Regions from separate parts of the Homo sapiens genome. Here regions 2, 3, 4, 5, 6 and 7 are each linked to region 1. Evidence: promoter capture Hi-C in 16 types of primary human blood cells and fetal thymus (Javierre and others, 2016). All regions are on one chromosome and are shown on one strand. Each heading gives the region's core, a stretch centred on a gene start or on the middle of the fragment in contact. The rest is flanking DNA. Distances are from core to core; before and after follow the strand shown. Region 1 holds the start of PRRT3 (proline rich transmembrane protein 3). Region 2 overlaps TATDN2 (TatD DNase domain containing 2). Region 3 overlaps SETD5 (SET domain containing 5). Region 4 overlaps MTMR14 (myotubularin related protein 14). Region 5 overlaps MTMR14 (myotubularin related protein 14). Region 6 overlaps LHFPL4 (LHFPL tetraspan subfamily member 4). Region 7 overlaps IRAK2 (interleukin 1 receptor associated kinase 2).

Region 1 (3,394 bases), core at 360-2,859:
GGTAGAGATGGGGTTTTGCCATGTTGCCCAGGCTGGTCTCGAACTCCTGGGTTCAAGCAGTCCTCCAGCCTTGGCCTCCCAAAGTGCTGGGAATATAGGCATGAGCCATTATACAGGCCAAATTTTCTTCTTCTTCTTCTTCTTCTTTTTTTTTTTTTTTTTTTTTTTTGTCAGTCTCGCTCTACTGCCCAGGCTGGAGTGCAGTGGTCATTGCACTCCAGTGACACAGCTTGTGGTCAATGGACAGAGTGGTCAATGCACTCCAGTGACACTCCAGTGGCCATAGCTTACTGCAATCTTGACCTCTTGGGCTCAAATGATTCTCTGGCCTCAGCCTCTGGAGTAGGTAGGACTACAGGCATGTACCACCACGCCCAGCTAGTTTTTTTGTTTTTTTGTTTGTTTTTTAATTTAAAAAAGTCTCACCATCTTGCCCATGCTGGTCTTGAACTCCTGGGCTCAAAATGATCCTCCTCTCTAGGCCTCCCAAAGTGCTGGGATTACAGGTGTGAGCTACTGCACCCAGCCCTATCTCATTTTTGATAACCACATATATTTCCTGTGTGGCTTTCCCTTAAGGAATTGAGCCTAATAATGGATGTTTAGTATATCAAGAGGTGTTCAAAGAAAGACCAAGAACATTTTGACAGTGTCTACCAGCCCCATATGCAGACCCATAGATTTTACTACCATGCCTCGGCTAGGCAATTATCTGGTAGGTGCACTAGTGTACGTGCACAGTGATGTGTTAAGCAAGGAATGGCCCCTGCTCCATTATCCCTGCGAGCAAAAGGCTAGAAACAACCTATGTCCAATTACAGGGGACAGGATAAAGAACAATAACTAGCTGACCATATGCTGGAATTCTCAACAGTGGATACAAGAAATGATATAGATCTATAGATATTTACATGAAAAATGTGCCAGAATATATTGGAAAGTGAAAAAGACAAATTACAGAAATGTGTACAGTGGCTGGGCACGGTGGCTGACGCCTGTAATCCCAACACTTTGGGGGTCCGAGGCGGGCTGATCACCTGAGGTCAGGAGTTCGAGACCACCCTGGCCAACATGGTGAAACCCTGTCTCCACTAAAAATATAAAAATTAGCCAGGCATGGTTACTAGGGAGGCTGAGGCAGGAGAACCACTTGAACCTGGGAGGCGGAGGTTGCAGTGAGCCGAGATCACGCCACTGCACTCCAGCCTGGGCGACAGAGCAAGACTGTCTCAAAAAAAAAAAAAAAAAGTATACAGTATGATGTCATTTCTATTTAAGATGTACATGTAACTGTACATTGAGAAGAATCTGAAGGATACATACCAAGCTGTAGGTAGGATTTACCTAAAAGGATGTAGGGATATAGAAAGGAAGTGAGCTCCCCGTCCCATGAGGTATGCAAGCAGAGGCTAGCTGCCCCGTTTTCAGGGATGCTGCAGAAGACATTTCCACATCCCTCAGAGATGACCTCGGTTCCACTCTGAGCCCTGACAATCCCTGAGCGAGGGGAAGTCAGGGTTGACAGAAGAGTCCACCCCTAAGGGGAAAGAGTTAAGCAGGGCTGCGCTCCTGTGGGCGGGCTCGCGATCGGCAGCGCCGGGCTCTGTTAGCCGAGTCTGAGCATCTCGGAGGATGCGGCGCGGCGATCGGCTGCAGGGACGCGCGCAAGGTGAACACGGGGGCTGCGGCGCGCAGGTGAGGAGCTGGCCCAGGGAGGGGGCGATGGCGGGACCCCGACGGGGAGCGTGGCCTGCTGCCCCCGTCGCGGGCGCAGGCGACCAGGCCTGCACGGCGCCCACCCCCATCCAGGACACTGCGGGAAGGCGCGGAGCCAGGGAGAGAGGAGACGGAGGAGGAGGAGGAGGAGGAGGAGAGGTAACCCGAGATGGACCAGCTCCGAGGCTGCCCCGCAACGGCCTCGCCCTGCCCCCAGGCCGGCCTCTCCCCAGTCCCTGCGGCAGAGAGATCCGCCACCCCCCACAGCCTCTCCAGCAGAGTGGGAGCCCAGGGCTGGGCAAGCCCCCGCCTTGTCCGCAGGTGCCCACATCTCTTGGGTTGGCAGTGGTAGGCAGATGGCATGTTTATCTTTGGAGGCCCCATTCAGCCGTTTTCTCGGCAAAGCTTTTTGGACCTCCTGTGGAAGATGAGCCTCCGAGGGTTTCACAACCCCGATTGTGTCCACTCAGCTGTGTGACCTTGGGGGAGTTGCTCACCCTCTCTGAACCCCCGTTTCTTCCCCCTGTGAAATGGCTGTTCCCACACCTTGTATTGGGAGGGCGGAGTGACGTGTTGCTAAGCTCAGCGCAGGAGCCTCACTGGGAAAGAACTAAACACAGGAGCACTGTTTTTAGCCAGTACCTGTGTTAGGGGCGTCTCAGCGCACCCCTACTCCCAACCCTGGAGCAAAGCCCTGTCTCTGGGCCCCCAGCACCTAGCCTAGACCAGGAGCAGCCCATGGGGCTCCGTGAATGTTTGAGAAATGAACTAACAAGGCTTTAAGACAGAGTCTAAACTCGAGTTTGGAGGATGGGACTCAAAGGTCTTTGAACCCCTTGAAATTGTTCACAACTTTCGGTGAGCCTGGGTCTTTTCCCCGGGAGAGCACCAGGGGTTTTCAGTGGCTTCTTAAGGTGTCTGTGAGCCACCATGGGTTAACAGCCAGGAAGCTTTGGGGACAGCTGCTCCCCAGAGAGGAAAAGAGCAGGGCCTCTGCCGCCAAACACACCCAGGCTTCAGCTCTCGCACCCTCCATGAAACCTCTCCTGGTGGTGGGGCCCCTTCCTGCCTCCCTGGCCCACTGACAGGCTCTCGAGAACAGGAACTTTTAGGGGATATCCACGTGGGGCCAGGTATATACTGGAGGCTGCAGGTTTGAAATAAGAGGCAGGAGATTATTATAGAATCAGACCAGAGTGACAAGTGCCCAGGAAGATGAGGGAAGGAAGGCGGGAAGAGGAATGTGTAACGCTTGTCAAGCATCAGGTATGAACCTCGCCCATACCTGTTTGGTTATTTGTCTCATGCCTTGAGTTAGGCATGCTTATTATCCCCATTTTACTGATGGGAAAACTATGATGCAGAGAGGTGAAATGACTCCCCCAGGAAATGAAGACACTGGGATTCAAACTCAGGCCCCTCGCCAAAGGCCGGTGCATATTCCTCTCCCTCTCCACGTCTCTCATTTTTGAAGTGGGCCTTTAGGAATAACATTTCAGGCAGGGTGCAGTGGCTCATGCCTGTAATCCCAGCACTTTAGGAGGCCAAGATGGGCAGATTACCTGAGGTCAGGAGTTCAAGACTAGCCTTGCCAACATGGCAAAACCCCATCTCTATTAAAAATATAAAAATTAGCCAGGTGTGGTGGCACATGTCTGTAACCCCAGCTACTCGGGAG
Region 2 (3,511 bases), core at 74-2,573, 310 kb before region 1:
AAGATAAAGTTGAAGAAACCATCCAGAAAAATTTTTTAAAAAGGATTCACTGGGAAGAAAAGAAAATTGGAATTTCCATCCGAAAGACCAAGCATAAAATAGATGGTCCAGAAAAAGAAGAAACAGACAAGAAATCAAATAATCAAGAAATTTTCCCAGAACTTTTCTAGGCTAAGGATGTACTGAACAAATTCGACTTATTTTACTCTTTCCTGAAACCTCACTAAAACTAAAGAATCTAAAAACCAAACAAAAAACAAATAAAACCCCTCTACAATAACAAAAACACCAGAACAGGAAGAACAAGAGACTACAGTGATCACGCACTGGAGGCTAGAAAGCAGATGGCCAAATAACACCTCACTGGCAGACCAAGAGAAGGCTGAGACCTAAGCTAGGCACCAGGAAAGCTTAGAACAGAGCAGGCACTCGCGGTACTGGGCACCTTGGGAACTGGAGGAACTGGAGTTACAGAAGAACATTAAAAGGAGGAGGACAGGGTGAAATCTGGTTTCCAATGAGTTAGATCCCAGATTCCCTCCTCATACTCAGAGAAGGTGAGTTGTTTGAAGACAGTAAAACAAGAGGATCTCTAGAATAAGGCCTGGTCAGCTCAGTGGAGGGCACTGGTACTGCACCAAAAAGACAAAGATTAAGTGAATGCTGACGCCGCCCCCGCAGCCGCCCCTTTCGCTACCCAGCTCCCAGCCACCTTTCCTCCTAAGCAGGCTGAAAAACACTCCTCTGGGCAAGGTGACCAGTCTCGAGGCTTTCCTAAAAGCAGTGACATGGCAAGGGGAAGAGGGTTATATTCTCCCGATCATCCCAAAGCAAAGCTCAAAGTCTTTACGCTCAGAGCTTCCAAACAGCTTTTTAATCCTCCCATTCTTGATCATAAACAGACAACCAAAGATTACCAGACATGTGAAGGCAGCCTCTAACACAGAAGAGATCAAAAGAAACGGAAAGAAGCAACTTAAAGAAAACTAAAACCAAGCCAAAAAACTACCATGAACTCCCTAAAAGAGATAACAGAAGATGAAACAAGAACAGAGATGTTATTAAAAAACAAAAGAGCTCTTGGATAATAAAAAGCATGACAGTAGAAAAGTAAAACTAAATAAACAGCTGGGTTGGAAGATAAAGAAAAGGAAATATCCTACAAAGTAAAGCAAGAAATTGGCTAGAAACAAGGGAGAAAGGCAATAAAATTACAGGACCAGTCCTGAAAAATCCAACATCCAAATAAGAGAAAGAAGGTAGAGAAGCTAGAGAGAGAAAGAGAGAAGAAAAATACGGAAAGAAAACATCAGCGAAGTACAGTAATTCACGAACTTTTCCCACAGCTAAAGTACAAGGGTTTCTAGATTGAAAGGGAATGTCCCATGCTAAGCAAAGTAGACACCACCACCATGAAATTTCAGAGCCCTGAGATCAAAATATATTCTACAAGATTCCACAGAGGGAAAAAAAAAAAAAATACAGGTTGGGCACGGTGGCTCACACCTGTAATCCCAGCACTTTGGGAGGCTGAGCCGGGCGGATCATGAGGTCAGGAGTTCGACACCAGCCTCACCAAAATGGTGAAACCCCATCTCTACTAAAAATACAAAAATTAGCCGGGTGTGGTGGCACATGCCTGTAATCCCAGCTACTCACAAGGCTGAGGCAGGAGAATCGCTTGAACCTGGGAGGTGAAGATTGCAGTGAGCTGAGATCACGCCACTGGACTCCAACCTGGGTGACAGAGCAAAACTCTGTCTCAAAGCAAAAGAAAATAAAAAATAAAAAATCATATACCAAGGTTCAGGAACCAGCATAGCTTCAGACATCAAGAAAACCAGAAGAGGCCAGGCGAAGTGGCTTACACCTGTAATCTCAGTACTTTGGGAAGCCTAGGCAGGTGGATCACCTCAGGTCAGAAGTTTGAGACCAGCCTGGCCAACATGATGAAACTCTGTCTCTACCAAAAATACAAAATTAGCCAGGTGTGGTGGCGTGTGCCTGTAATCCCAGCTACTCGGGAGGCTGAGACAGGAGAATCACTTGAACCCAGGAAGTGGAGGCTGCAGTGAGCCAAGATCACACCAGTGCACTCCAGCCTGGGCAAGACAGAACGAGACTCCACCTCAAAAAAAAAAAAAAAAAAAAAAAAGCCCAGAAGAAAAGGAGCAATGCCTTCAAAATCCCAAACAAAACAATTTCCAACCTGGAATTCCAAAACCAACCAAGCTTGTAATCAAGGTTAAAGGTAAAATAAAGGCAATCTCAGACACATGTTTACCAAAAAAAGTTTCTCCATGTACCCTTTCTCAAGAAGCTACTAGAAAAAGTATTCCACCAAAATGTGAGAGTAAACCAAGGAAGAAGAACATGAGAAGACACAGAGTATAGGTAGCAGAAGACTCAATCCGGGAGAAATGTGAAGGAGGCTCCAGAGAGACAGCTGCCAGCTGGCCTGACGGCAGGCAGTCCAGACCAGAGCAGGACAACAGAGGGCTGAGGACGTATACCTCCAAGAGAGAAAAAAAAGAAACAGATTCCTTATTTTGACAGTATTGAGAAGGATTTTACAGCTCTCGCAGTTTGGGGATTAATTAGTGAAAGGTACCAGGAAAACCAAAGGAAAAACAAAGTAATGATGAACTTTAAGGAAAATGAAGTTTTACAAGAAAGAAAATGTGATCAGAGTATACAAGGCGACTCAGCTGTGAACATGGCAGTAACAAATCTTACACAGACTTAACCCAAAAGGTATTCAAGCCACACAGGGAGGCTGCAGAAAGGGGAAGCTAATGTGTCCCTGGGTGTGGGTGCTTCTGAAGGAGGTATAGAGAACTAAATTCTCATCGCCCAAGCAAGAAGTCCTCAGACATCTAAAACTGAAAAACTGATCAACAGTAAAGATTATTTAGAAACATGGGGTAAGTACTAGAAGAAAGAGCTAAAGATGAGAGAAGCTGCCTGCAGAGCAGTAGTAAAGGATGGGTGGAGACGAGTAAGATGGAGGAATGTGGCCTGGCACAGTGGCTCATGCCTGTAATCCCGGCACTTTGGGAGGCCAAGGCAGGTGGATCACGAGGTCAGGAGTTCGAGACCAGCCTGGCCAACATGGAGAAATCCCATATCTACTAAAAATACAAAAATTAGCCGGTTTGGTGGCGCACACCTGTAATCCCAGCTACTCAGGAGGCTGAGGCAGGAGAATTGCTTGAACCCAGGAGGTGGAGGTTGCAGTGAGCCAAGATTGCACCATCGCACTCCAGCCTGGGCAACAGAGCAAGACTCTGTCCCAACAACAAAAAAAAAAAAAAAAAGAAAAAGATGGAGGAATGCTTCCCCTCAATTATAAGCTATGTTAAAAATCACTAGTTTCCGTCCAATGACATCCTTCCCTTCTTCTCTGGTTATCCAGGTACAAGTCTGCCTAGATAAAGGCTGATTTTCCAGACTCCCTTGCAGCCAGGTGTCAGCCGGGTTTCCCCGCTCTTGTCAACAGCAGATACAACAT
Region 3 (3,368 bases), core at 479-2,978, 470 kb after region 1:
CAGGAGGATCGTTTGAGCCCAGCCTGGGCAATATGGCAAGACCCTGTCTTTACAAAAAAATAATTAGCTGGGCGTGGTGGTGCAGGAGAATTGCTTGAGCCCTGGAGGGTTAAGGCTGCAGTGAGCTACGATTATGCCACTGCGTTCCAGCCCGGGTGACAGAGTGAGACCCTGTCTCTTAAAATAAAAACAGAACGAACCCTCGGTCAACTCCTTTCTCTGAGCCTCACAGCAGATTATGCGGGTTGTCATCAGTGCAGTTTAAAAGCAAAGGGCCTGCTTCGTTTGGACAACTGCATTTTTTTTTTTTCTTCATGGTAACCTCTGCTAAACAGAGAACCCTACACTGTCAAACTGACACCTGGGGGGCAAAAGGGCCAGACTGCTGTTTTTAAGACAGTAAAGGGTACCATATACTTTTTCAGCTAGGTAAGTGATTTCTGGTCATAGTGTCACAGCATCTCTAGCTGTTTCTATTTGTTTTCTGGGTTAACTGCAAAATTTCCAAAACTGTTGGTTTGGGTCTGCCACTTAAAAGAGAGAAATCTTGAATAAGTTGTATCTTCTGAACTTATACCTACCTTGCACATTGTTACATGTAAATGAGGTAGCTGATGACTTAAGTGGAGTCCAGGAAAGTGTAAAGTGACATAGAAGGTGCCACTGTTGCACTGGCCTCTTTAATTAATATTGTCTAGCTTCTATTTACACCAAGCTTGTCCAACCCACAGACCACGGGCTGCACGTGGCCCAGGATGGCTTTGAATGCGGCCTAACACAATCATAACTTTCTTAAAATATATATATATTTTTAAGCTCATTAGCTATTGTTAGTGTATTTTACATGTTGAATAATTCTTCCAGTGTGGCCCCGGGAAGCCAAGAAGATTGGACACCTCTGATTTACACCATATCAAAAGCAAAGTCCCTAGCAACACAGTAAGTACTTGAAAAGAATAGCAAATAGGTTAACTCTGAATGGGCAGTTGACTGTCTTACCTTGATATTCTCAGCACCTCAGATATAGCCTAGCACACAGTAGGTGTTCAGCCAATGGTCATGGAACAGAACCTTCCAATTATGGCAGAAATCAGTTAGTTTTATTCATTATCAGAAGCCCAGTGCTATAGCTGAAACACTGTACTAGGTCTCAATTTCTCATCTTTAACTTCTGGCATTTGGCTTGCTTTCTTCACAGAATTATGAGTCAAAATAAGACACTGTATATGGAAACACTTTCTAAAGATCATGCACACTATTCTCTTCCTAACCCAGGTAGAATCAGGTTGTGGTTGGTGGTAGGTTACCTAGGTATTCCTAGGGCATTTTGGAGGGATCTTCTAATAAAACAAGTGGTTTTGTTATGTTTCCACTTTCTATTTTCTTTTGAGACGGAGTCTCGCTCTGTCGCCCAGGCTGGAGTGTAGTGGCACGATCTCGGCTCACTGCAACCTCTGCCTCCTGGGTTCAAGCGATTCTCCTGCCCCAGCCTCCCAAGGAGCTGGGATTACAGGCACGCACCACCACGCCCGGCTAATTTTTGTATTTTTAGTAGAGACAGGGTTTCACCATGTTGTTCAGGCTGGTCTCAAACTCCTGATCTTGTGATCCGCCTGCCTTGGCCCCCCAAAGTGCTGGGATTACAGGCATGAGCCACCACGCCCAGCCTTCCATTTCTAAACTCCTTCAACTAATAAATAGCATCTTCATCTTTGAATCCCTTATGTGCTTTGCAAACTGCAGTCTACCTTAGTTACTCAGTAAACATTTGTCAAACAAATGTTAGAATACTGCCAATTCAATCCATTGGCAAGTTCTGCTGTGTACTTGCAAAACATATCCTGACTCCAATCACTTCTTATCCCCATCATTACCGTCTTAATAGAAGCCACCACTGCATTGTTGCTTGCCTGAACAACTGCTCTACCTTCCACACCAGTTTCTCAGCTCCTATTCATCTCTTCACCAACAGGATCAAAACAATCAGAGTAATTTTTAAAAATCAACCAAATATAAATTAGACAATGTCACTTCTCTCCTTAAAATCCTGCAATGACTCCTCCACTGTACTTACTGAATGCAGATTATTTAAATTATACCTACAAGGTTCTACATTAGAGACCAGCAAACTACAGCCTGCAAACCAAATCCAACTTGCCACTTGTTTCCTGTAAATAAAGTTTTATTGGAACATAGCCACATACTGTCTATGCCTGCTTTTGCACTGCAATGGAAGAGCTGAATAGTTGTTTTTTTTTTTTTTTTTTTTTTTTTTTTTGAGACAGAGTCTCGCTCCATCACCCAGGCTGGAGTGCAGTGGAGTGACCTTGGTTCACTATAACCTCCTCCTCCCAGGTTCAAGAGATTCTCCTGCCTCAGCCTCCTGAGTAGCTGGGATTACAGGTGCGCACCACCACACCTGGTTAATTTTTGTATTTTTAGTAGACAGGGTTTTGCCATGTTGGCCAGGCTGGTCTCGAACTTCTGACCTCAAGTGATCTGCTCTCTTGGGCCTCCCAAAGTGCTGGAATTACAGGCATGATTCGCACCCAGCCAAAGGGCTGAATAGTTATGACAGAGACCATACATGGCTTGCAAAGTCTAAATATTTACTATCTGGCCCTTTATAGAAAGAGTTTGCCGACTCCTGCTCTACATGATCTGTCCCCTATCTCCCTCTTACAGGATCTTCTATCCTCTTTCCCAGCCCCATCCATTTATTACATCTTAACCAAGCTTTTTCTACCACAGAGTCTGCAACGTTCAAGAATGAATTTCACTCACATCGTCCCAGGACTGCCTCCTTGTCACTGAAGTCTCAGTTTAAATGTCAACTCCTCAGAGACTTTTCTTGACCAACCAATCTAGAGTGGCTCCTTCAACTGTCTTAGTCACATATCTGCTATGAAACAATTAACATGGCAATGACTATTTAAAATTATATACTAGTTTAGTTCTCTCCTCCACTAGAATGTAAACTCCATGAAAGAAGAGACCTTACTTTGCCCACCCCCAATCAGCATTCTAATCACCATAAGCCCAGCACCAAAAACAATGTCCAGCATTGTTTTTGAATGAAAAAGACCAATAAATAGTTGCTGAATGAATGAGGCCAAGGTCAGGAACACCACTCAAGTTCAAGGCAGTTTTTAATGTTCACTTGCCCTGCTGCAGGTTTGCCTTCACACTGTCCTGACTGCAATCATAAAAAGCGAAGGAAGATCAGACAGTATTCCTGGCCCCATTATCATGGGCAAAACAACTCCACCAAGGGCACATTCTCCTCAGATAAAAATGGCATTAGGAAAACCAGGCAAGGCAGGGCCACAAAATTGGACAAAGAAGTTCTCAACTTTATGATTATTATG
Region 4 (3,801 bases), core at 1,139-3,638, 290 kb after region 1:
AGGTGGGCAGATCACTTGAGGTTGGGAGTTCAAAACCAGCCTGGCCAACATGGTGAAACCCCATCTCTACTAAAAATACAAAAAAATTAGCCTGGCGTGGTGGCGCGTGCCTGTAATCCCAGCTACTCAGGAGGCTGAGGCAGGAGAACTGCTTGAACCCGGGAGGCAGAGTTTGCAGTGAGCCAACATCACGCCATTGCACTCCAGCCTGGGCGAAGGGCGAGACTCCGTCTGGGGGAAAAAAAAAAAAGCAAAGTGCCCGTAGGGTGGCAGCAACCCACCAGGCAGCCCTAGGCACACAAGCTCACAGAGAACCAGAGTGTGCTGCCTTCCCCTCACCCAGTTTCTCTATGAAATCAAAAGGCACCTTGGTACCAATTAATTGCCTAACTAGACTCCACAAGAATATAAAACCGAGCACCTTTAGTACTGCCACAGTGGCCTTCCTCCCACTTACTTGGCCCGTGGCCGATGTCACATATCTGGTCAGCACCATCTGCTGCAACCGACTCTCACTTAGCTCATACCAGCCCTCTGAACCCTAAATGCCTACATCTGATTTTCCCAGGTTGAGTTGTAGCCTCAAAACCAAGGTGGATTTCTCAGGCTAAACTTCTGTTAAAAACAAACAAACAAAACACCCCTGGTGGAGGACACATCAGCATTTTCCTCTAGGGAGGATCTTTTAATGTAATGACCCACCTTTTCTTGTTAGGTCGGCCAGTGGTTCCTTTACCGGTTCCCCTACATCAAGCTCCAATTCAGTTTCTGGCCAGGCACAGTGGCTCATGCCTGTAATCCCACACTTGGGGAGGCTCAGGCGGCAGATCACCTGAGGTCAGGAGGTAAAGACCAGCCTGGCCAACATGGTGAAACCCCGTCTATACTAAAACTACAAAAATTAGACAGGCGTGGCAGCACGCGCCTCTAATCCCAGCTACTCGGGAGGCTGAGGCAGGAGAATTGCTTGAACCCAGGAGGCGGAGGTTGCGGTGAGCAGAGATCACGCCACTGCACTCCAGCCTGGGCAACAGAATGAGACTCCGTCTTAAAAAAAAAAAAAAAAAGAACCAATTCAGTTTCTGTTCTCTCACTTTTTCCTGTTTTTATTATCTCTTGTCCTTAGGATTCTTTTATTGCAGTGCTAAGCACTGAGCTGTGTCTGGCACATAATACTCACATTCGAAGGGATGAATGTAGGCTTCTGTATTTACATTTGTAATGTATGCACTGAAATTTCTGGCAAGATGTTACCAGGTAGTGAGATTTTGTTGTTTTTTTCCCAACAAGGTCTTCCTCTGTTGCCCAGGCTGCAGTGCAGTGGCGCCATGGTTCACTGCAGCTGACCTCCTGGGCTCAGGTGATCCTCCCACCTCAGACTCCCAGGTAGCTGGGACTACAGGCACATGCCACGATGCTTGGCTAATGCTTTGTATTTTTTGTAGTGACAAGGTGTCACCATGTTGCCCAGACTGTTTAATTCAGTCTGTTTTTTATTCAGTCTATTCAGTTTAATTCAGTCTCAAACTCCTGGGTTCAAGCGAAACGCCCATCTCGGCCTCCCAAGTAACTAGGATTATAGGCGTGAGCCACCATGCCCAGCCAAACTATTTTCAAATACAGAAGAAAATGCTGTTATCACATATTTCCAATAGGAAGCTTTCCCAGACAGGCACCACACTTACCAAACTGGGTGGCTTGTTCCTATAATGTACCCCACAACTTCCTGAGATAAATGTTACTGCTGCTACTATTTAATAGATAAGAGGCACAAAGTAGAGCTTACACCCACATTATCTCACTCAGTCCTCACTTACCCAATTTTACAGATGAGGTAGTTTAATGAGATGAAATCTCTAGCCCAAAGTCACAGAACAGGTAAACAGGGTAGCTGAGATTCTAAACCCTGTGGGTAGCCACTGGGCCCATGGTTTTAACCACTATCCGGCAGGGCCTCACCTGTACTTCCCCTAATTCCAGCTTTTATTAACAATTATTGCTTCTTTATTGGACTCTGTTTCCCACTAGACCTACTGGTAAGGACTTCATCTATCTGGCTTCCAACTTGATCCCTGAGGTCTACTACACAGCAGCAGCTGAACGAACACTGTTGACAAACATGTCTTAGCTATTCAGAGATCCCTGTCCAGGCTTCTATTCCCAGATGATGAACCAAATTGGAGAGGTTCCTTAACAGGACCAAAACATTGCTTAAATCCAATTCTACCCTGTTTAATTCAGTCTATTTTTTATTCAGTCTATTCAGTTTAATTCAGCATCATAGTAACAGCCAAGCCAGACAGTAAAAAAGCAAAAAATGCTATTTCTTCCCACCCAAACATACCCGAAGTCCCCCCTTTCAACAAGCAGGCATCACCCACTCAACATCACTTCAGTAACACTTTAAGGCCTTGCAAGGAGTGAAAAGTAAAAACAAACTCCAACAAGCTCCTCTAAGGTTAATCATGTTCCACAGTGGCCTTGGCCTAACTGTGAGGTTCTGCTAGACAAGGTGGGAGAGCCGTGGTGGTGAAAGATAAGGCAGACAGGTACAGAGTCAGGAAATACAGCTTTTAACCCCACTCTGCTTACTACCTCTGTGATCTTCGGCAAAGGCAAATTACTTCTCTGGGCTTCAACTTCATCTATAAAAGAGTGGTGAGGGCCAGGCGCGGTGGCTCATACCTGTAATCCCAGCACTTTGGGAGGCCGAGACCAGTGGATCACGAGGTCAGGAGTTCAAGACCAGCCTGGCCAAGATGTTGAAACCCCGTCTTTACTAAAAATACAAAAATTGGCCGGGCATGGTGGCACGCGCCTGTAATCCCAGCTACTAGGGAGGCTGAGGCAGGAGAATCACTTGAACCTGAGCGGCAGAGGTTGCAGTGAGCCAAGATCACTTGCGCCACTGCACTCCAGCCTCAGCGACACAGCAAGACTCCATATCAAATTGAAAAAAAAAAAGAGTGGTGATACTGTCTTCTTCACTGAATAGTTGTAGGGCTTAAGCTAGCAAGTAAAACCTCAACACCTGCCAAACAGAGGTACTCAACAAATACTAGTTTCAGTCTCTTTAAGGGATCAACACTAAACTTGTTTCCTTCCAGGAAAAGCTTTTACAAGGCAACCACCACTACGTTTCTCAATGTACTATTATGTTACTGAAGGGTAACATTTGGTATTACCTGAGAGCTTGTTAGAATATGCCAAATCGCAGGCCCACCTCAGGTCTTCTGAATCTCTGCATTGTAGAAAGATCCCCAGTTGATTCACTCATAAAATCAACATAGAAAAGAACCACTCTGTTGGGTGCGGTGGCTCTCACCTCTAATCCCAACACTTTGAAAGGCCGAGGTGAGGAAATCTGTTGAGCTCAGGAGACCCACCTGGGCAATGCAGCGAGACCTGGTCTCTACTAAAAATTAAAAAAAATCAGCTGGGAGTGGTGGTATGTGCCCATATTCCCAGCTACTTGGGAGGCTGAGGTGGGAGAATCACTTGAGCCCAGGGGATCAAGGCCGCAGCAAGCCATGATTGTGCCACTGCATTCCAGACCCCGTCTTAATTAAAAACAAAAACAAAAACAAAAAAACCCACCTTGATTACAGCTGAGCTTAATATCAGAATGTCATCATCAGGGCACAGAGGTAAAACCACCAGCCAGCCAGCACCAAAGAGGGTAGGAAGAAGGGGAACGAAGAGAATGGCAAGGCAAAAACAAAGAAAACAAAACAAAACAAAACCCTCTTGTTCAGAAACTTTAGCTTAAAGATTTACGGAAACTAAGTTTACCCAGCTGGG
Region 5 (3,715 bases), core at 556-3,055, 270 kb after region 1:
GCCTCTTGGGAGGCGCCTGCCTGCCTGCTACACTCCAGCCCTGCTGCCTTCACGCCTGGAAGTTTCAGTGTTCACTTCCCTGAATTAGCTAGCTAGCAGCCTCTTCATAATTATCATTACAATCTGTCTGGTATTTCAGTTCAGGAGTCCCTTTCAAGCAGTGATCATATTTGAGCCTGGCACAACTCTGAAATAGGTACTGCCAACACCATTTTCAGGGGGAAGTGAGGTCATCTGTTCAAGGCCACAGAGCCTTGCAGGAAGGGCCAGGCAAGCTGGGACCTAGATCTAGGGCCTGCATCTACTAAGCAGAGTACCTCCTCACACGCACAGGACCCCTTCCTAAAGAGGCAAACATCCTTGGGACCAGTGCCTGGAACTGTCACATCTCATTTGCTGAGTAGTTCATCAGATCCAGTTTGTACCTGCATAAGGAGAAAAAATGGTGCCGGAAGGGACCAGAAAGAGGGTGGCTTGGGGCAGAGTCTACTTGACCTCTGCATGCAGCACATAAAGAAGGAAGCCTGCCGGTTCTTTTATCTACTCAGTCTGTCTAGGCACAGCCTGGGACATGAGACCACAGCACAGGTACCCCAAACCTGTTCCTTCTCCAGGCTTCCAGACCATAACAAACAACTGGTCTGCTTTCCTCCCCAGTGCTCCCTCTCTTGCAAACACCTGCATTGGGGAACTCTGACATCACCCTACTTCATACACTCAAACAGTTGCTGTGAGCATAAACCTTGTGATTAGGGTCTGGATATATATAGAGAAAACAAGATGGACCTTGCTGCTATCAGGACAACAGGGTACTGACATTGGTGATCTAGGAGCACCCAGTTGCTTAACATAGATGGGTCAGCCTTTCAAAGAAAGAGAGATCTCAAGGCTGGGTGGGAGCTGTCCAGACCTGGGGACAGGGGAAACTAGCAGGGAGGCAGAATGTTTTCTGTTGCTCACTGGCTCAGTCTTTCAAGTTCTAGGCTCTGTGCCTGTTTCTGTGCTGGGACACACAAGCTGTGGGTCCCTGTCCTCCAGGATTTCAGGGAAGCAGATCTCTAAATCAGTGACTACAGCTCAGTGGAAAATTCCATGATGGATGTGCCCAGGGGGTTAATGGGAATATAGATGCAGGCATCCAACTCGCCAGGGATAAGGAAGAGGCAGATCAGGGAAGTCTTCCTGAAGCAGACACTCGAGCCAAAGCCTGAAGGGCAGTATGTCAGCCAGACAAGAGGAAGCTGAGAGGTGGCAGCCAGGCAGAGGAACAGGACATGGGAAAGGTCGCAGAAAAACAAAACTACTTGTTCTGTCTGAAGCAAGTGGCAAGCAAAGCTGCTGGCAGCCTTCAGACTGTGTGGGCTAAGGGTAGAGAGATGTTTCCAGTAAGACTAGAGGCCCCTTCCATGGTGTGCAATGACGGAGAAGAGCATGGTGGAAGTAATTTTAATGTTTCTATAATCAAATGAGGTCAGGCAGCTCTGTACTTCCTCTGGCTGAACACACATTTAAAAGGAAAAATGTAAAAGTAACTAAAGCCCAGATCTGGAATAGCAGACTCTATGAGGTCCTCTGGAAACAGAACCCCCTGGTGGATGCAAATCTTTGAATGAGTCACGTTCAGAAAGCTTTGATTTTCTGGGACATGAGCAAATCAGGAGATAGTTGAACGGACACACAATTCCTCCTTTCTGAGAGGACAGAGGGCCAAAGGCATCTGAGTGCACAAGCCAGCCCATCAGGCAAACACACGAGGGCCTTGTGGGGCAGGCATCAAGAGTCTCCTTGGTCACCACTCCCTTATCCTGCCCTCAATGCTTGAGTCAGGCCCCTCACCTGATACTGGCTCCAGTCAATGTTCAGAGAGTGAGTCAGGAAGTCGGGGATGCTCAATGGGGCATCAACGTAGTCCTGGGGACAGAAAGACTCCTGTGAGATGTGGGTTGGCCACCAGAGGAGGCTTAGGTGATGGGGAAGCTTGCAGTCCTGAGGCTGTGACTACCACAGGCAGTGCTTGCCTTCTCTGGGCCAGATACCTGTGCTACCTGGGAGTGACAGCTTAAAAATCAATGTGACCAGATCAGTATAGCTGAGTAGGAGTTTTTCAGTCGGACATTTGATGTCTGTTGCTGAAACATGCAAGATCAATATGTGTTCAGCTTCCGGCAGGTTTCCCATAGCCTGCCCCTACAGGCTGGGGAAGGCAAAGAATGCTGCCCCCAGCTTTCACACAGAGAGTACAGAAGGGAAGGGCTTTTCCTATCTTGTTTCTGAAAAATTCCCTTAAACAAAAGAGAAATAAAGGGGGGAGGAAAGTATAATGATGAAAATTTAACAAGTATATACAAGGAGAAGAGGGAGAGGAAGACAGAAACAATCAGGGAGGAAAGGGGAGTTATTTTCCCCAAAGACTGCTTGTTGTTTTCCCCAAAGACTGCTTGTTGTTCTCCTTGGCCTCCCTTTACAAAGAGACATAGATCCAATTTGATGTATGTTATTGCTCATACCTGCTTCCAGTTAAATATGAGCCCTTCTGCCATGTAATCCCGATCTTTATATTCCTTGAAAAATTCACAGCCTGGAAAAGAAGGGCAGAGTTATGACATCTCCCTTCCCAGCCCAAAGTCTTCTGAGACAGCCCTGGCCAGACCCAGGTCCCTGAGTGCTGTGGAGAGGGGGCCGCCAACTCACACTTCTCCAAGCTAGTGGCTTCAGTGAGGCCAAGGCTGACACGGGTGGGCAAAAGCCAGGGGCGAGCCTCTAGAGCCCCTCTGGTTTCCTGGCTGCATGCCTTTTCCACGAGGCACTGCCTGCTCTCAGCCTCTTTGTAACTTTCTCCATCTATGCTCACTGGTCACCAGTCACTTCCCCCACATTGCAAGTCCCTTTGTCCTACAGGTCTCTGTAGTGCCAATCCCAGTAAACAAAGGCATGACTCACAACGTGAGCCACTGCAGCCTAGCTGCAGAGGATCACTCTTCCTCTTCTCTAAAATGGGGGCAAATAATGCTAGCCTTGCAGGCTTTTAGTGAAGACTGAACATCCTAACATACTGGAAAGGCCCACGGACAGTGCCTAAAACCCGGTGCTCAAGAGACACTGCCATGCCCAACAAAGCAAGCAAAGAGGCACTTTTCTATATTCTTTGGTGGAAAAATCATAAGTAACTCCACCAGGACAAGCCCTCAGGAACAGAGAGAAACACTGGAGAGAATAGGGCTTTGGCAACATTCCCAGCTTAAAATCTCAGCTTTTTACTTAACACTGTAACGCTGAACAAGTTGTTTAATGTCTCTAAGCCTTGATTTTGTCATTTGTAAAATGGCTGTTTAAGGATGACATAATACATATAAAACACCTAGCACTGCACTGGTCCAAGTGACACTCAAATGGCAGCACACTATTGTCATCACGCTGCCACTGCAACAAGAGCCCACAGTGCCAGCCCACAGCGTGAAGTCAACTACTTTGCTCTGCGCTTGGAGTTGGCTGCCTTGGTCAGAGAGAATGCGTCTTGCCCCCCGGGCTGTGGCCTGCCCCTGCTGAGTCTGACTATAGCACAGAGAGCATCTGGTCCTCCAAGGAGCTCCTGGTGGCTTCAAGAAATATGGTGGGAGAAGGCACTTGGCTAGCTTGCAGTTATTCTCAGCACCTCAATCAGGGCCTCTACACAAACTTCAGACGGCACATGGCTTTGGCCACACCTCCAAGTCTG
Region 6 (3,788 bases), core at 590-3,089, 450 kb after region 1:
GAGCCAGGGGGAGATGCACCAGGGAGTTTGGAGTCAGGAAGGCAGAGTTGTGTGGGCTGAAGTCTGCGGGAACCCCAGGGTGACACAGGCAAGGGGTAGAAGTCAGAGTGGGGACCAAACCATAGACTGGGGCCCTGGGTTCTGCAGAGGTGTGGATGGGGCAGGTGGCAGGTGCTCCAGTGGGGGCCCCAGGTGAGGCCCTGATGGCCCTCCTGGGGCAATAAAGACATCATGGGAAGGGGGCTTTGTGGTTTGCCTCTGCTCTCGTCGGGCGATCTGGCTTTAGCCTTCAGGAGGAGGTAAGCAGAGGAGATCAGTGCCTGTTTCTGACCCCAGGAGGGCCTTGTTGGGCTCCAACCTAGAGCCTTCCGGCTTCAGGTCCCAAGAGAAGTCCCCCCCTAACTGTGACCCCCCTAACTGTGATCAGGGGTCTGCCATTGCCCGCTTTTCTCTGCCTGATCTGGGGACTCAGGAGAGGCCACGGCAGCCACAGCCTAGGGGTGGTTCAGTCCCTGGCCCACAGTCTGGTCAGTTGAGTCCTTCTGGGAACCGGGGCTATGAAAACTTTCGTCTTTGGGGACCGGTACCCATGAAGGAAAACTTTCCTGAGGGGGTGAGGACCAAAGAATCAAGATCCTTTTCAGGCCTGATAGCCAAGATGATGAGAACTTTTAGATAAGGCTGTGGGGAGAGTCCCTGGCCTTTTGAGCATCCTGCTTGGGCACACGGGGAATAACCTTTCTCCAGCTTCCAGTGTGAACTGAGAAAGAGAAAGGGAAACCCTGTCTTTGGAGAAGCTGGGATGTTCCCAGCACCAGAAACTTCTGCAGGCCCCTGCCTGGCCCACGGCTAACCTTTGGGTGGGACTGGAGTTTCCTGAACAGGGAACAAGGGAGCCTTCCGCAGAGCTCTGATGGGCAGGCCTCCGAGGGCCTGTGCTGTGTGCTGTTAGGATAGCTTGGTGTTGTCTATACCCCATTAGTAAGTTTTGTCTGAGTGTGTCCTCGCTGTTCATTGTCTAATTTGGTAACATTTATTTTGGTCCTGACCCCTTCTGCTGCTGCTGGGTTTAAGCTTCAGTGCAGGTGGAATGACATTCAAATAAAGAAACACTTTCTATCACCCACGCTGGCTGCCACTTCTCTGAGTCACTGGGATCAAGAGGGGTAAGATTCCAACCCTATGGATCAGGTTTGTCTGGTATTAACAGAACCCTACTACTGTGGCTTAACAAGATAGTTTATTTTACCATCACATTAAAAAAAAAAAAAAAAAAAAAAAAAGCCTGGAGGTGGGTAGATCACGGCTGATATGGCTCTCAGTGTTATCCAGAACCCAGGCTCCTATCTTTCTGCACTGCCATTTTCAATCCTGGCTACATCCTCAAGAACACCTCATGGCCCAACGTGGGCTGCTGGAGCTCCAGTCACCTGGTCCACATTTCATTTGAAGACTTCTGGAAATTCCATAGGACTGTGTCACTTGGGCCACATAACAGTAAAGGAGGCTGAAAAAGTGTGGTCTGTTATCTCGGCGCATTGCCAGCCCAAATAAAACTGGGGTTCTTGGCCGGGCAAGGTGGCTCATGCCTGTAATCCCAGCATTTTCAGAGGCTGAGGTGGGTGGATCACCTGAGGTCAGGAGTTTGAGACCAGCCTGGTCAACATGGCAAAACCCTGTCTCTACTAAAAATACAAAAATTAGCCAGGCATGGTGGTGCGTGCCTGTAATCCCAGATACTCAGGAGGCTGAGGCAGGAGAATTGCTTGAACCCAGGAGGCGGAGGTCGCAGGGAGGTGGGATGGCGCCATTGCACTCCAGCCTGGGCAACAGAGCAAGACTCCGTCTCAAAAAAAAAAAAAAATAGGGTTCTGATACAAAGGAGAAAGGAGTGAATAGAGAGAGGGATACAGTAATCTCTGCACACCTCTGACAGCACAGGCACGACTTGTCCAAGTCCATACAGGCAGAAAAGAGTAGAGCCTCATCTGCTCTAGCCAGAGTGCTCAGTCCAGTCACTTTGCCTCTCTCTAAAGCCCCATTGAATAAATAGAGAAAACAATAGTGACTCCCCCAAGGGAAGCTGTAAGCAACATACCAGGGAATATATGCACTTTGCTCTGCAGGGTATCTGGCACGCTGTAATGTGCGCAGTACCAGGTAGCTACATTGAAGACTTGGAAATGGAGTCCTCTTCCAACACATTTTAAGCACTTAGTGTATGCTAAGCACTTAAGCTAGAAAAAAAATGAGCAAAACAGAGATGCTGTCTTAAGCATAATTCTGGTTGGGGAGATGAACATGTGAAAATAACGCATGACTTGCCACATGCAGGGTATTGTGGGTATCCTAGGCAGGAATACTTTAAATGGCTTTTGGTGACGTGGGCAGCGTAGGAGGAGGTCTTGCTGTAGGATGAGAAGTTAGGCAGGAGGGGTCAGGAAGGTCAAAGAGAAGGCAGCTTGAGGAAAAAGACTGAGGTAGGCAGCAGAACTGTGTATGGAGGACGAAAAGCAACTTAGTTTGAAATGTGAAGTACGAGGCAGGGAGGAGTCAGAGATGAGTCTAGAGAGACAGGCGAGGGCCAGACCATGAGAAAGCTTGGGGGCCATGGACAGGAGTTTGGACTTAAGAGCAATGGGGAACCACTGAAGGATTTGAAGCAGAAGGAAAAATGACTCAATTTGCATTTTAGAAAGAGCACTCTGGTGGTAGCATTAGGGGGCTGGATTAGGGGTAGACTGTTAGCCCATTTCTGCATTGTTATAAAGCCATACCTGAGACTGCATCATTTGTTTTATTTATTTATTTTGAGATGGAGTCTCCCTCTGTTGCCCAGGCTGCAGTGCAGTGGCACAATCTCAGCTCACTGCAACCTCAGCCTCCCTGATTCAAGTGATTCTCCTGCCTCAGCCTCCTGAGTAGCTGAGATTACAGGTGTGCACCACCACACCCGGCTAATTTTTGTATTTTTAGTAGACATGGGATTTCACCATGTTGGCCAGGCTGGTCTCAAACTCCGGGTCTCAAGTGATCCACCCGCCTCAGCCTCCCAAAGTGCTGGGATTGCAGGCATAAGCCACTGCACCTGGCCTGCATAATTTATTTTTATTTTTTTGAGACAGGGTCTTGCTCTGTCACCCAGGCTGGAGTGCAGTGGTGAGATCACAGTTCACTGTAGCCTCAACTCCCAGGCTCAAGCAATCCTCCCACCTCATTCTCCCAGGTAGCTGGGACCATAGGCACCACCATGCCTGGCTATCTCTTTTTTTTTTTGAGATGGAGTCTCACTCTGTTGCCAGGCTGGAGTGCAGTGGCATGATCTCAGCTCACTGCAACCTTTGTCTCCCGGGTTCATGCAATTCTCCTGTCTCAGCCTCCCAAGTAGCTGAGACTACACACGTGCACCACCACGCCCAGCTAATTTTTGTATTTTTAGTAGAGATGGGGTTTCACCATGTTGGCCAAGATGGTCTCGATCTCTTGACCTCGTGATCCACCCACCTTGGCCTCCCAAAGTGCTGGGATTATAGGCGTGAGCCACTGCTCCCGGCCTTATTATTATAATTTTTTATAGAAACGGGGTCTTGTTATGTTACCCAGGCTGGTCTCAAACTCCTGGGCTCAAGCAATCTTCCTGTCTCAGTCTCCCAAAGTGCTGGGATTGCAGGCATGAGCCACTGCACCTGGCCAAACTGGGCAATTTATAAAGAAAAGAGATTTATTTTGGCGCATGGCTCTGCAAACTGTACAGGTAGCATGTTGCTGGCATTTGCTTCTAGTGAGGC
Region 7 (3,518 bases), core at 213-2,712, 260 kb before region 1:
CAGCATAGATACTGGGGTTCCAGACTCCTGGGAAGTAGGATACAGGTTCATATAACCAAACCAGGGGTGTCCAATTTTTGACTTCCCTGGACCACACTGGAAGAAGAATTGTCTTGGGCCACACATAAAATACACTAATACTAATGATAGCTGATGAGCTTTAAAAAAAAAATTGCAAAAAAAACTCATAATGTTTTAAGAAACTTTACAAATTTGTGTTGGGCCACATTCAAAGCCATCCTGGGCTGCACACAACCATGGGCAAGTAAGACAAGCTTGCTTTAAACAGAATTCCAGAGACTGCATGTGTATATAAGCCTATAAAAAGAAGTTCTGTTTCCGTTTTTAATAACTTCTCTCTTTAAAACACATGTACGTAATTTTTTTTTTTTTTTTGAGACAGAGTCTCGTACTGTCACCCAGGCTGGAGTGCAGTGGTGTGATCTCGGCTCACTGCAAGCTCCGCCTCCCAGGTTCACGCCATTCTCCTTCCTCAGTCTCCCGAGCAGCTGGGACTACAGGCACCCACCACCCTGTCCGGCTAATTTTTTGTAATTTTTTTAGTAGAGATGAGGCCTCACCGTGTTAGCCAGGATGGTCTCCATCTCCTGACCTCGTGATCCGCCCGACTTGGCCTCCCAAAGTGCTGGGATTACAGGCACGAGCCACCGCGCCCGGCCTAAATTTCAATTTTTTTAAGTTACATATGCTCTTAACAGTTTTTGAAAATTAGTATCCATAACCCCATTATCCATTTAACTGCTATTAAAGTTAGTGTATTTCCGGCCAATTAGATATACTAGGATTTATTTAACAAAACTGGTATCATGCCACACACATAGTTTTGATTTCTTTTTGAGACAGGGTCTCACTTTGACACCAAGGCTGGAGTGCAATGGCATGATGTCAGCTCACCGCAGCCTCAACCTCCCAGGCTCAAGGGATCCTTTCATCTCAGCGCCCCCAAGTAGCTGGGACTACAGGTGTGTGCCACCACGCCTGGCTTATTTTTTAAACTTTTTTTTTTGGCGAGGCCAGGCACAGTGATTCACTGCTTGTAATCTCACCATATGTGGGAGGCCAAGGCAGGCGGATCCTCTGAGGCCAGGAGTTCAAGACCAGCCTGGGCAATATGGTGAAACCGTGTCTCTACTAAAAATACAAAAATTAGCCAGGCGTGGTGGCACACACCTATAATCCCGGATACTCAGGAGGCTGAGGCAGGAGAATCGCTTAAACTGGGGAACCAGAGGTTTCAGTGAGTCGAGACAGCCTGGGCAACAGAGGGAGACTTTGTCTCAAAAAAACTTTTTGGCCAGGCACGGTGGCTCATGCCTGTAATCCCAGCACTTTGGGATGCTGAGGTGGGCGGATCACATGAGGCCAGGAGTTCAAGACCAGCCTGGCCAACATGGCGAAACCCTGTCTCCACTAAAAATACAAAAAAAAATTAGCCAAACATGCTGGCATGTGCATGTAATCCCAGCTACTCAGGAGGCTGAGGCAGGAGAATAGCTTGAACCTGGGAGGCAGAGGTTACAGTGACCAAGATCGTGCCACTGCACTCCAGCCTGGGCAATGGAGCGAGACTCCTCAAAAAAAACACAAAAACAAAAAAAACTTTTTTGTAGACACAGGATCTCACACTGTTGCCCAGGTTGGTCTCAAAGTACTGGGCTCAAGTGAACCTCCCATACCAACCTCCCAAAGTGTTGGGTTTATCCTTCATGGAAGGTTGATCTATTTATTAATTTAGAGATGGGGCCTCCCTGTGTTGCCTAGGCTGGTCTCCAACTCCTGGGCTCAAGCGATCCTCCCACCTCAGCCTCCCAAATAGCCAGGACTACAGGCATGTGACACCACACCTGGGACATGGAAGAGCTTCATTAACCACACTCATGCAAAGCTGGCTTCTCCCCCAGGCACTGGATGCAAAGGGTCTAGGCTCACAACACTTTTAGGGGCCATCAGAACATTTTAATTTATTTTAAAATCAGAAGAAAATAAATGGACTTTTAGAGTCAAAGAAATGTCCTCATTTTTAATCCTGCTTGGATTTTATTTATCTTCGTACCAATATGGTCATACATTTTTGGAGACAGGGTCTCACTCTGTCACCCAGGGTGGAATGTGGTGGTAGGATCACAGCTCACTGCAACTTCTGCCTCCTGGGCTGAAGCCATCCTCCCGCCTCAGCCTCCCAAGTAGCTGAGACCACAGGTCGAAAATAAAATAAAATAATAAAAGAAAATAATGGCCGGGTGCAGTGGCTCATGCCTGTAATCCAAGCACTTTGGGAGGCGGAGGCAGGTGGATCACCTGACGTCAGGAGTTCGAGACCAAGCTGGCCAACATGGTGAGACCCCGTCTCTACTAAAAATACAAAAAATTAGCCGAGCATGGTGACATGCACCTGTAATCCCAGCTACTTGGGAGGCTGAGGCAGGAGAATCACTTGAACCCGGGAAGCGGAGGTTGCAGTGACCCGAGATCGTGCCACTGCACTCCAGCCTGGGTGGCAGAGCGAGACTCTGTCTCAAAAATAATAATAATAACAAATTAAAAAACAAGAAGTATATTCACTGAAGTGCCCTCCCTCCCTCTCCCCGCTATTATTGACCTCCTCTACTTACAGTCTTAGAAGCTTGGGGTAATTTGATGGCAATTTCCTTTCTCCTCTCCACCCTTAAACTGGTCTCAAGGGGTAGAGAAATTGCATTTTTGAGAGGGAACTACACGCTGGGAGACATGGCTTGGGGGCTGCAGCCGAGGGGTGGATTTACCTTTGAATCAGACGAAGTGGGGAGGTCGCTTCTCAAGGAATGAGGGGCATCTTCTTCAGGAGGCTGGAGAAAGGCCGGCTGGTGGGCTCTGGCTGGAGAGGACCCTGGAAAGGAGGGACTATGGGTCAGGATGCAGCCTCGGGGAGGAAGACAGGAGGGATCCTGGTCTAGTCCTCAGACTATGCCAGTCTCCTGTTCACTCCCCAAACACTTGTTGCTGCCAATTCCTGACACCCACCATGTGCCAACCAACACACTCCTCAAGCATCACCTCAGGATAAGCCTCTGACTCCCCTACAACCTGGGGCCTGTTTATCATCCCAGTTGGCAAGTGGAGACACGGAGACACCGGAGGTAGACGCAGTGCTCAGGACCACCCAGCCAGTAGATGGTAGAGCCGAAATTCAGACGGAAATCTGTTTGACTTCTAGGCCCTGCACTATCTCACCTCCTACTCAAAGAGCAGAAAAAGACACAGAGGTGAACTAGCTACCAAGCCTGCCTTCCAGAAACCTCCACCAGGGCAGGGATGCAGTAACTATCCTCCGAGGATACATCCCACGGGAGAGCGAGGTCAGAGGCAGGAGAGACCATAACAGGCTGGGAGATGAGGAGGGTTCACAGAGGAAGTGGCACCTGACCTGGGCTTGAAATATGGAGAAACGTTTTCAACAAGCAGATATGGGGCAGTGGAACCAGCCCATGCAGAGGTGGGGCAGTAGAAGGGCCCGGGGC

The links. The method cuts DNA at HindIII sites, captures the fragments that hold promoters and counts their contacts. A CHiCAGO score of 5 or more calls a contact.
Region 2: a fragment that was not itself captured here is called in contact with the fragment with the promoter of PRRT3 in region 1 in 15 of 17 cell types (endothelial precursors, activated CD4 T cells, naive CD4 T cells and 12 more); the score reaches 10.0 in endothelial precursors.
Region 3: a fragment that was not itself captured here is called in contact with the fragment with the promoter of PRRT3 in region 1 in 1 of 17 cell types (erythroblasts); the score reaches 5.3 in erythroblasts.
Region 4: a contact is called between a fragment that was not itself captured here and the fragment with the promoter of PRRT3 in region 1, in 2 of 17 cell types (monocytes and activated CD4 T cells). The highest score is 5.6, in monocytes.
Region 5: a contact is called between a fragment that was not itself captured here and the fragment with the promoter of PRRT3 in region 1, in 1 of 17 cell types (monocytes). The highest score is 5.2, in monocytes.
Region 6: a contact is called between a fragment that was not itself captured here and the fragment with the promoter of PRRT3 in region 1, in 2 of 17 cell types (erythroblasts and M2 macrophages). The highest score is 6.2, in erythroblasts.
Region 7: a contact is called between a fragment that was not itself captured here and the fragment with the promoter of PRRT3 in region 1, in 2 of 17 cell types (M2 macrophages and total CD8 T cells). The highest score is 6.9, in M2 macrophages.

The regions. Positions count from the first base shown.
Region 1 is chr3:9,950,623-9,954,016 of GRCh38, reverse strand. PRRT3 (proline rich transmembrane protein 3) reads left to right here and starts at 1,609. Exons shown (of 4, transcript NM_207351.5): 1 at 1,609-1,695. The region is part of intron 3 of PRRT3-AS1 (PRRT3 antisense RNA 1); the gene reads right to left. RefSeq lists a silencer at 1,571-2,110. The HindIII fragment of the contact is 9,295 bases long and covers 1-2,123 here.
Region 2 is chr3:10,261,172-10,264,682 of GRCh38, reverse strand. All of the region lies in intron 3 of TATDN2 (TatD DNase domain containing 2), which reads right to left. Among named protein-coding and RNA genes, the nearest start is that of TATDN2, 14 kb to the right of the region's middle. RefSeq lists a silencer at 559-748. The HindIII fragment of the contact is 1,822 bases long and covers 413-2,234 here.
Region 3 is chr3:9,478,132-9,481,499 of GRCh38, reverse strand. It overlaps SETD5 (SET domain containing 5), which reads right to left. Exons shown (of 23, transcript NM_001080517.3): 23 at 3,346-3,368. Among named protein-coding and RNA genes, the nearest start is that of LHFPL4, 74 kb to the left of the region's middle. The HindIII fragment of the contact is 2,021 bases long and covers 718-2,738 here.
Region 4 is chr3:9,656,711-9,660,511 of GRCh38, reverse strand. All of the region lies in intron 2 of MTMR14 (myotubularin related protein 14), which reads right to left. Among named protein-coding and RNA genes, the nearest start is that of MTMR14, 9.1 kb to the right of the region's middle. The HindIII fragment of the contact is 1,454 bases long and covers 1,662-3,115 here.
Region 5 is chr3:9,676,180-9,679,894 of GRCh38, reverse strand. MTMR14 (myotubularin related protein 14) reads right to left here. Exons shown (of 19, transcript NM_001077525.3): 8 at 2,508-2,578; 9 at 1,837-1,911. Among named protein-coding and RNA genes, the nearest start is that of CPNE9, 26 kb to the left of the region's middle. The HindIII fragment of the contact is 349 bases long and covers 1,631-1,979 here.
Region 6 is chr3:9,495,699-9,499,486 of GRCh38, reverse strand. LHFPL4 (LHFPL tetraspan subfamily member 4) reads left to right here. Exons shown (of 4, transcript NM_198560.3): 4 at 1-1,126. Among named protein-coding and RNA genes, the nearest start is that of LHFPL4, 56 kb to the left of the region's middle. The HindIII fragment of the contact is 1,526 bases long and covers 1,077-2,602 here.
Region 7 is chr3:10,208,958-10,212,475 of GRCh38, reverse strand. It overlaps IRAK2 (interleukin 1 receptor associated kinase 2), which reads right to left. Exons shown (of 13, transcript NM_001570.4): 4 at 2,784-2,887. Among named protein-coding and RNA genes, the nearest start is that of TATDN2, 38 kb to the left of the region's middle. The HindIII fragment of the contact is 2,369 bases long and covers 278-2,646 here.